Regions from separate parts of the Homo sapiens genome. Here region 1 is linked to region 2. Evidence: promoter capture Hi-C in 16 types of primary human blood cells and fetal thymus (Javierre and others, 2016). All regions are on one chromosome and are shown on one strand. The core of a region is centred on a gene start or on the middle of the fragment in contact, and the rest is flanking DNA. Distances in the headings are between cores, read along the strand shown. Region 1 holds the start of ATP13A3 (ATPase 13A3). Region 2 holds the start of PPP1R2 (protein phosphatase 1 regulatory inhibitor subunit 2).

Evidence for each region. Contacts are between HindIII fragments. The CHiCAGO score rates a contact against its expected background, and 5 or more counts as called.
Region 1: a fragment that was not itself captured here is called in contact with the fragment with the promoter of PPP1R2 in region 2 in 2 of 17 cell types (fetal thymus and naive B cells); the score reaches 7.1 in fetal thymus.

The regions. Positions count from the first base shown.
Region 1 is chr3:194,485,107-194,489,255 of GRCh38, reverse strand. It overlaps ATP13A3 (ATPase 13A3), which reads left to right and starts at 2,254. Exons shown (of 34, transcript NM_001367549.1): 1 at 2,254-2,690; 2 at 3,421-3,462. ATP13A3-DT (ATP13A3 divergent transcript) reads right to left here and starts at 2,116. Exons shown (of 2, transcript NR_033929.1): 1 at 2,084-2,116; 2 at 711-1,800. RefSeq lists an enhancer at 1,235-1,454 and silencers at 2,125-2,784, 2,815-2,864, 2,955-3,014. The HindIII fragment of the contact is 1,515 bases long and covers 1,871-3,385 here.
Region 2 is chr3:195,541,445-195,545,654 of GRCh38, reverse strand. PPP1R2 (protein phosphatase 1 regulatory inhibitor subunit 2) reads left to right here and starts at 2,330. Exons shown (of 6, transcript NM_006241.8): 1 at 2,330-2,751. The coding sequence starts at 2,630. RefSeq lists a silencer at 2,119-2,358. The HindIII fragment of the contact is 8,075 bases long and covers 1-3,033 here.

The sequences.
Region 1 (4,149 bases), core at 1,379-3,878, 1.1 Mb after region 2:
TCAGGCTGGTCTTGAACTCCTGACCTCGTGTGATCCACCAGCCTCGGCCTCCCAAAGTGCTGGGATTACAGGCATGAGCCACTGCGCCCAGCCCACCATAGGAATTTGAGGCTTATTAAGGAGGTGAAATAGATAGGACTTGGTGATTGGGTAAGGCAGAGGGCTGAATTAAGAATGACTCACTCATTCCCAACTTTCTAATTCTGATGACTGTGGAGATGGTGGTGCCAACAGCTGAGGGAGGGGCAGCTATGAAAGCAGAGAATGAGTTCAGTTTTGGAAATGTCCAGTTTGGGGTGTCTGTGATATCTAGCTAGAGCTGCCTGGCAGGCAATTGGATATTTGGTTCTAAATTTTGTGGAAGGGGTCTGGGTTGGAAATTGCTAATTTGGGAGCTGCATCCATGAGGATGCAGGCAATCCCAGAAGAATGAGTGAAGTGAGCAAAGTTGTTGGCTTAGAGTGGAATCCTGAATTTAAGGTGCAGATTCACAAGTAGATGTTACCAAGGAGGCAGAGGCTTTACTTACCTTCATGTGATAATCCAGAGGGTTCACTCTTCTGAAACCAAGGTAGTAGAGAGATTCCAGAAGGTGAGAGTCATCCCAAGGTGTCAAATGTAGCAGAAAGAACCAGAGAGATAAGGCCTGAGGAATGCCTGCAAGGTTTGGCAAAATGAAAGTCATGAGTTGCTCTTGCCTGAGCAAGGTGAAGGGTTAGAGTTGGGGAGGAGAAGCCAGAATGCCAAGTGTTGAGAAATGAGGAAGCAGAGGCAGCCAGGGAAGACCATTGTTTGAGGTCCGCATGAAACACTTGGAAGCTAGTTGGAGGGAGCACTTCAGGAGGAGGTTGGCTTGATAATTTTGTTTTTAGGACTTGGAGAGGCCAACCTGTTTAAAGGCTGAGAGGAAGCAGCAAGGCAAGGAAGCCTGGGAGGTGGGGGAGGAAGATTTTAGGGCCAGACCCCACCCAGACCGTTTTCTTGTGGTTTGCCCAACACTACCACACACCCCTTAATCTCATTTAATCATTTCAACACCACGAGGTTTGAAACAAACGGTGAGGTATGAAACAAAACGGTGAGGCCAGGGATTGGGAAGAGAAAGCTGTGGTTCCATCTCGGTCCAGCGTGCTGTCCACGCCAAGAGGCGGGCAGAAATGCTAGCCTCACACAATCTAGGGGACCAGGGGTGGCTGTGGCGCCCTCCTGCCCGCAGGAGGTGTTATCAGTGTCGCGGACTCGGGCGGTGTGCTGCCCCTGGTGAGATGTCATCACGTGCGTGGACCAGGGGTGGCGGCCCTGGTAAGTGTCCAGGGACTAAGGGCTCCCTGCTCTCCAGGTGTGGTGGACGGGGTCCGCATGCATGCCGTCCTCTTCTCTAAGACGCTAAGGCGGCTGAGTTCTGTAAGTAGCGGCAAGAAGAACAGTCACGGAGCGGGCCGGGCACAAAGGGCGCAGGCCAGGTGGCCCCAGGCGGAAAGATGGCCGCAGCCAGAGGCTGCAGGTGGCCGGGCGCGCTCCCTGCGCGCGTCGCGGAGAGGACGCAGCGAAAATCAAACCCGCGATTTGGAAATCCGGCTGCGGCCCTACCCCGAGATAAGTCTTCTGCGGAGGGAAGTATTTAATTTGCATCCAGGACGGTCGGAAGAGGCGCCTTCCCGTCGGAGGCGAGGCGCGGGCGCGTGGGAGCTTTCTCGTGTGCGCTCCTCCCTGTCCTCCGCCTGCGGCCGGGGCGCAGAGTCCGTGGTCATATGAGAATGACAGTTTTTTGTCTGTTTGTTTTGGCGGGGGCGAGGGTGGCTAAAGGAATGAAAGAGCCTTGCATTAGGAGCTGGGCTCTGGTTTCCTCTCCACCATTCTAGCACAAGCTTCCTCCATGACCATGACTCTGGGCAACGTCTGTCTAGTCACTGAGCCTCAGTTTCCCTGTTCATAAAATGGGAGATTGGACTATGATGTTGTCATAGCCCAAAGGGGATGAAGTGGGATTTGCCGTTCCATTTCATCCCACCAGAAAAGCCGCCCTCCATTAGCCACCCCGGGCTGACACCCAGCGTTTTTGGACGGCCTCGCCTCCCCTTACCTGCCTCTTTCTTTCTTTTGCCCGTTCGAGGGTGGCAAAGGCGATGGGTGGGCGGGGCCTATAAATCGCCCCGCCCCTCCCCGCCCCTTCCCCGCCTCCTGACGTCGCCCGCGCCCCTCCGCCCTCCGCGCGGGGATGAAGCCACCACGTGACCTCACATCCGGCGCGGGAGTCCTGAGCCCGCGCGCGCTCCCCCGCCTGCCTGCCGGCTCTCCCCGCAGCGTGATCGGGCGCCGCCGCGGAGGGGAGGGGGGTTCTCTACGTCGCTGGCGGCGGGGGGGCCGTTTCGGAGTGCAGACCGCCCCCCTCCCCTGCCCACCTCCCGCCGCCCTCCCTTGTTCTCGCCCTGCCGGCTGCACGCCGCCGCCGCGGGCGCGGAGGAGGAGGAGAGCGCGGACGTCCCAGGGCCGGCCCGGCCCCGCCGCGGCGCCTCCTTCCCTCACCCTGAGCCGCAGCGCGCGGCGCCGGCCGAGGGCGATGGGGCTGGGCTGAGGCGAGGCGGCGGCGGCGACAGCGGCGGCCGGGTCCCCCGCGGTCCCTGGGGCTGGTCCGGCCGCGAGGGAGGCCGCGGAGGAGGCGGCGCGGCGGCGGCCAGTGAGCGGCCCCGGTGAGCGGGGCGAGGGGCGGGTGGGCAGCGGCGCCGGGGGAGGTCGAGGAGGCGAATGGTGGTGTCGGGGCGGCGGGTACCGGGCGAGGTCGCGGCCAGCCTTCTCGGGCCGGAGTTGGGCATCGCGGGGACGGGGAGTGTCGGGGGCAGGTGAGGCCAGGGCAGGAGCCCACGCGGTGGGTGCGAAGGCCTGGGGGGGACGCGCCGCCTGCCGGGGGCGAGCGTGGGGGCCGGGCGCTTGGTGGTTGGTAGTCAGAGCTTTCGGAAAGTCCTGTGGGAGGTGGAGGTCCTGTGGGCAGAGGCGTAGGGGTGCTGGCAGGGCCCTCGATGAGTCTGTGCGGGACCCTAGCTCGTCCTCAGCCGTGGAGTATGGAGCTGCTTGCCATCTCCGCATTTCACAGATAAAAGGAGTGAGTCCCGTGGAGGAAAAGTGACTTCTGACTTGCCTGAGGCCTCCCACTCGGACTCTGTGGCAGTGAGGACTAGAAAAACCCAGGGCCCTTTGCCCTAGCAGTGCTCTCGTGGCCACTCTCGCTATGGCCTTTCTGTCTCTCCATTCCCTTCACAGAGTCAGGTTCTGGTGGAAGTATGACCTCTGGCTTTTTTGGGGAGGTGAGGGGTAGGGATGAAGGGGGAGGGAATCGGGTTGGGATTGGCAGGAACTCAGCTGGGGGCTTCCCGGTGTGGAAGAAGCTTTGTGACAGGTGTTTATTGTTTCCTCTTCCCATAGATCTGACAGACATCCCTGAATCTTGGTGTTTGGACATAGGAGGTATGAATCACTCACATAATTAGCCGCTTTTAATCATCAGTGTCTTAGAGCTATATTTAGTGGTTATATTAGTGCAAAATGAATGGGTGTGGAGTCGTACACCTAGAAACAGACTTGTGTTCCTCTATACGATTCTAACTAAATGAGTAGAACATACCTGGGTATGTCATGGCTACTTTAGATCTATGAGGCAGGAAGTTAGAATTTAAGGAATCTAAGAAATGCAGGGACTTGAAAGATTATTGCAAAATAAAGCCTTTAAAAAGTATCGTTGTTAAAATGAAAGTGTTTCGATTTGATTCCTTTGAAGGGTGAGTACGTAATGAACAGTGCTCTATCTTTGGTTAGAGCTCAGCCTCTTTACCAAGGTACATGTATTAATTTTGTTTCACTGGAATATATGTGACATTATTTTCTCTAGAGGTTTGTTGCTTTGCTTAATAGACTACAGTTGCCAAAAATCAATGTGTGTGGGCATCTCATCCTGGTTTGCAACCCCTTTAAGGCAAATCAGTGCTTGGAAGTTGTTCGAAGTAGTAAACCTATTATTAATGATTGTTGTAGAACATAACTTTTGCTGGTATCTTTGATTTGCATTATCCTACCATTAGATCAGGCAGAGAGTGAAATAATTGAGATTTTGAGCCTTGTTAGAACAACAATGCCTGGCTTTGGTCAGGGGATTGG
Region 2 (4,210 bases), core at 1,081-3,580:
CTAAAAATACAAAAATTAGCTGGGTGTGGTGGCAGGCACCTGTAGTCCCAGCTACTCGGGAGGCTGAGGCAGGAGAATCACTTGAACCCAGGAGGCAGAGGTTGCAGTGAGTGGAGATTGTGCCATTGCATTCCAGCCTGGGCGACAGAGCAAGACTTTGTCTCAAAAAAAAAAAAAAAAAAAGCAGTACTGGCCCTCACAATTTTACAAACTATTTTTTTTTAAGTGCTACCAAAGTCATCTTCATCTGCATTCATTTGTTGTGGGTTTGGGAGTGGAAGAACCAGTACAGGAGACAAAAGTTTAACTCTTGATGAGGGAAATATGTTTCCAAGGTTCTTCAGAGAACTCTTCATCACCTCCTGTTCCAATGTTTGTTAGTTAATTAACTAATAAAACACTTTATGTCATACGATCGTAGTCCCTTTCATTAGAGGGTCTGAAAGCAAGCTGTTGCTTAATCAAGGGCCCAGTCACAGTTGAGTTCAGGGATGCTGAACTCAGTGATGCTTCCCAGCCCAAGCAGGAACAAAGCAAATCTGCCCAATAATTTGGAACATACAGGGAAGTTTGTGTATTCCCTTGAAAACAGGATTGCCATCACTGACCTAGACTCCTGCTGACAGGGCAGGAGACGCAACACAGGTGTTGAACACTGGGGTGGAAAGAACTCAGGAAGGGAAGGGAGGTGGCCATCCTGCTTCCCCTCGCTGAGAACCCTCTCTCTCTGCTCCATGGGCTGGACAGGGCTGTCAGGGTGTAATGTTAGATCCACTGAGCAGTCCTGGCCTGGGAGGGAGAGACGGCACCAGTGGATATTTGACTGGGAACAAAGGTGGGGACAGTGCCAACAGTGACTGTGCAGGCCCCTGGCTGAGGCAAATCCCTGGGGAACACATTCCACTCTGTGACCAGCAACCCTGTTTCCCTTCTCCCCTTCCAGCTCACTTCCCCTCCATTATCTCCATCCACATCCATTCCCATACTGAGGCCCTGTTCTGTGCCAGGAACTCATCTAGGAGCTAGGGGCTCGGGGCCAGACGATAAAAACAATCGTTTTCAGAACCCTACAGTCATCCCTGAGGGGCAGAGTCCTAAGGACACAGAACAGGGTCATCCTCAAAAGGCACAGAGCCTGTGTTAAAGAAGATGAGACTGTGGTCCAGAGATGAGCCATGGGAGTGAAACTGCTGCTATAGGGGCTAGATAGGGGAAAACGCTTCCTCTCACCCCCCACAGCAGTGGACAGACATTGCTGGGAGCGAGGTGTCAGCTCAATCTAAGAACTCCCAGAGTCAGAGCTGTCCAAAAACAAAATGAGTTACACGGGGGTGTGGCGGGCTTCTAGCCCCTGGGGTTGTTGGAGAAACAGGCTGAATAGCCACCTTATGGGCCTGCTTGACAAGGTCCCTTCCAGGACCAGTGGTCTGTGAATCCGCAGGGGCTGGTCCACCGGAGGGGCCAGTTCTGGGTGGCTCAGTCTGCTGTGCTCTAACCTGTGGTGAGGACGATAAAAAGGCCTGATCAAGAAAGAGTCATGGAAAAGAGCCTGGTGATGAGCGAGCTGCGGACTGGACTTGGGAGAGGGAGGGAAGGGAGTGTACAGGGACCATAACAAATACCACACACGAGGTGGCTTTAAGCAATGGAAATGGGCTCTCCGTTCTGCAGGCTTGAAGTCCACATCAACCTGCGGCAGAGTTGGTTCCCTCTGTGGGGGGAACCTGTCGCGGCCTCTGCGGGCCCAGGAGGTCCTTGGCTGGGAGATGTGTCCCTGCCGCCCTCCCGTCTCCTGCGCTCTCTGCCTAGACGGGTTGTGCGACGGCGGGGGTCGCTGCCCGTCTGTCCGTCGGCTTCTCCAGCGGTAAAAGGAGGTGAGGCGATTCCAATGCAGACATTCTATGATTTCATAATAGGCCTCTAAGGACCACTCCAATGCTGGCAGTCCATGCTTTTATAATAGGCAGTTCGGCTGTTTACACGGGCGAAATGGAAAGAGGAGATACCCGTTTTCTTCAAGTCAGCTAACCTCTCTGCGGAGTGACGTCACCTCGAGTCTCAGTCTGCTGATCTAAAAAATAAAAATAACACTACGGCCTCACAAGGTGGTGGGACGAGGGTGCTCGAGAGACGCGCGGGTCCGGGAAGCAGCAAGCCCGGGCGCTCTCCCGCAGGTTCTCAGAGACAGCTCCCGCCTCCCAGCGCCGCGCGGGGGCGGGGCGAGCAGCCCGGGCGGGACGGAGGGGGCGGGGCGAGGAGGTCGGCTTTGTTCTCGCCCCGCCCTCTCCCCGCCTCCTCCCTAGATATCGCGAGAGGGCGGGTCCGCTTGGCTTCGGCGTCGCGTCGCTCCTGCGCTGGAGCTCTAGGCCGGCGTCTCTCCGCGAGCCGCGGGTCAAGTGCCAGTGGCTAAGGGTGCGCGAGTAGCCGCCACCCGTTCGGCGTTGGCTCTGGCGTCGGGGTCGTTGTGTCGTGACAACCGCTGCGGTAGCCGTTTCCGAGGCAGCAGTTGCGGCCGCTTTAGCCCTGAGCGGGATCTGCGGCTGCCTGCGAGTCTCTGCTGTGCCGACCCTTCTCTTCGCGGACCCCACGCCAAGCAGCGACCCTGAGCCGACAGCCGGAGCGCCCGGCAATGGCGGCCTCGACGGCCTCGCACCGGCCCATCAAGGGGATCTTGAAGAACAAGACCTCTACGACTTCCTCTATGGTGGCGTCGGCCGAACAGCCCCGCGGGAATGTCGACGAGGAGCTGAGGTGAGCGCTGGGAGGGACGGCCTGGGAGCCCCTCCTTCCCGCCGGGCCCGTTACCTACCCAGACCCCAGGGGCGGGCGGGCGGCGTGGATGCGGCTCGGGTGCCGCTCGAGTCTCTTCTCCTGCCCGGCTAGCCGCGGGTGGGAGCGATCTTTAAGAAGGCTGGGCGATGACGTTTATCATGCTTCCTTTTTTTTTTTTAAGCATTTGGGCATATATAATATTTTTAAACATCATCTTTGAACTTTCTGTAATCGGGAACATCAAAGAATGAAATTGAAGCTTCAGATCTTCGACTGTTAAGCTTTTACTATTTCTTAACCTCATCTCTGAGGTATCTAAAATTCTTCGATAATTACAGTGTATTTTCTTGCTTTGGGAACCCTTTAAGATCTAGTCTCAAGCTAATAGGCGATCCGTCAAAGAAGAGACCATTTCCCCCATTAGCATTGTGCCACACTGTATTTCTGCATCTGCAACCAGAGTTTTGGGTGCTTTCTAGTTTTTGTTCCTGTTCAGAGATAGATCTAAGCTCAAAACAGTTCAAAGAGGAGCAACTTGAAATGACCCAGTGGTAATTTAGTTGCTCTTGCATACGCTAAAGATACACATGTAAAAAGTTGTTGACCTGAGCATTGTATGTAATATTTATAATATAATTGGAAACGACCGGAAGTCCATTAGTAAGAGCTGGTGAAATATTAATTACGGTACGTTTGTATAATGGAACAATATACTAGCCTTTAAAAAAAGAAAGGTAGGCGTTTATGCACGGAGAAAATGTTGCAGTACAGTATCTGTAGTGGGTTAGAAGTGCACGGGGGCTTGGGCGTTGCAAGATACTAAAAATAGAAGGACTCTACTTTCTGAAAATAAGGCTTAAGAAAAGTTACCATTGAAATTGGTAGTCAGAAGCTAAAATGAGGATGTTTGTGAAATCTCAGAATATAGGAACCTAGGGCATTCCTGGATAAAGGATCTTATTTAGGACCATAAAAGGAACTACTGCTTGGTGGTGGTAAATTTTAGGGATTTGTGTTACCTTGAAGGAAATATTGAGTAGGTTCATAGGTTAGAATCGTGGCCTTTTGGGGCTGGAAAGGACCTTAGTTTTTGTCTAGCAACTCCCACGCTCATGGATGCTTGAATCTTACATTCTCTCACACACAATTTTCCAACTTCTTTGGGCTAAGCCACGTTAAATGGAGTGCTGGGGGAGTGTGATGTGTAGGTCATGGAATTAAGAAGACAGAATTTCACCAGAACATAACTGAAGCAGGAGAACCAAGTTAGTTAAAAGATAAATAACATCCAGGCGTGGTGGCTCACGCCTGTAATCTCAGCACTTGGAGAGGCCAAGGTGGGAGGATTGCTTGATCCCAGGAGTTTGAGACCAGCCTGGGCAACATAATGAGACCTCATCTCTTAAAAAAAAAAAAAAAAAAAAAAAGGAAAGAAAAG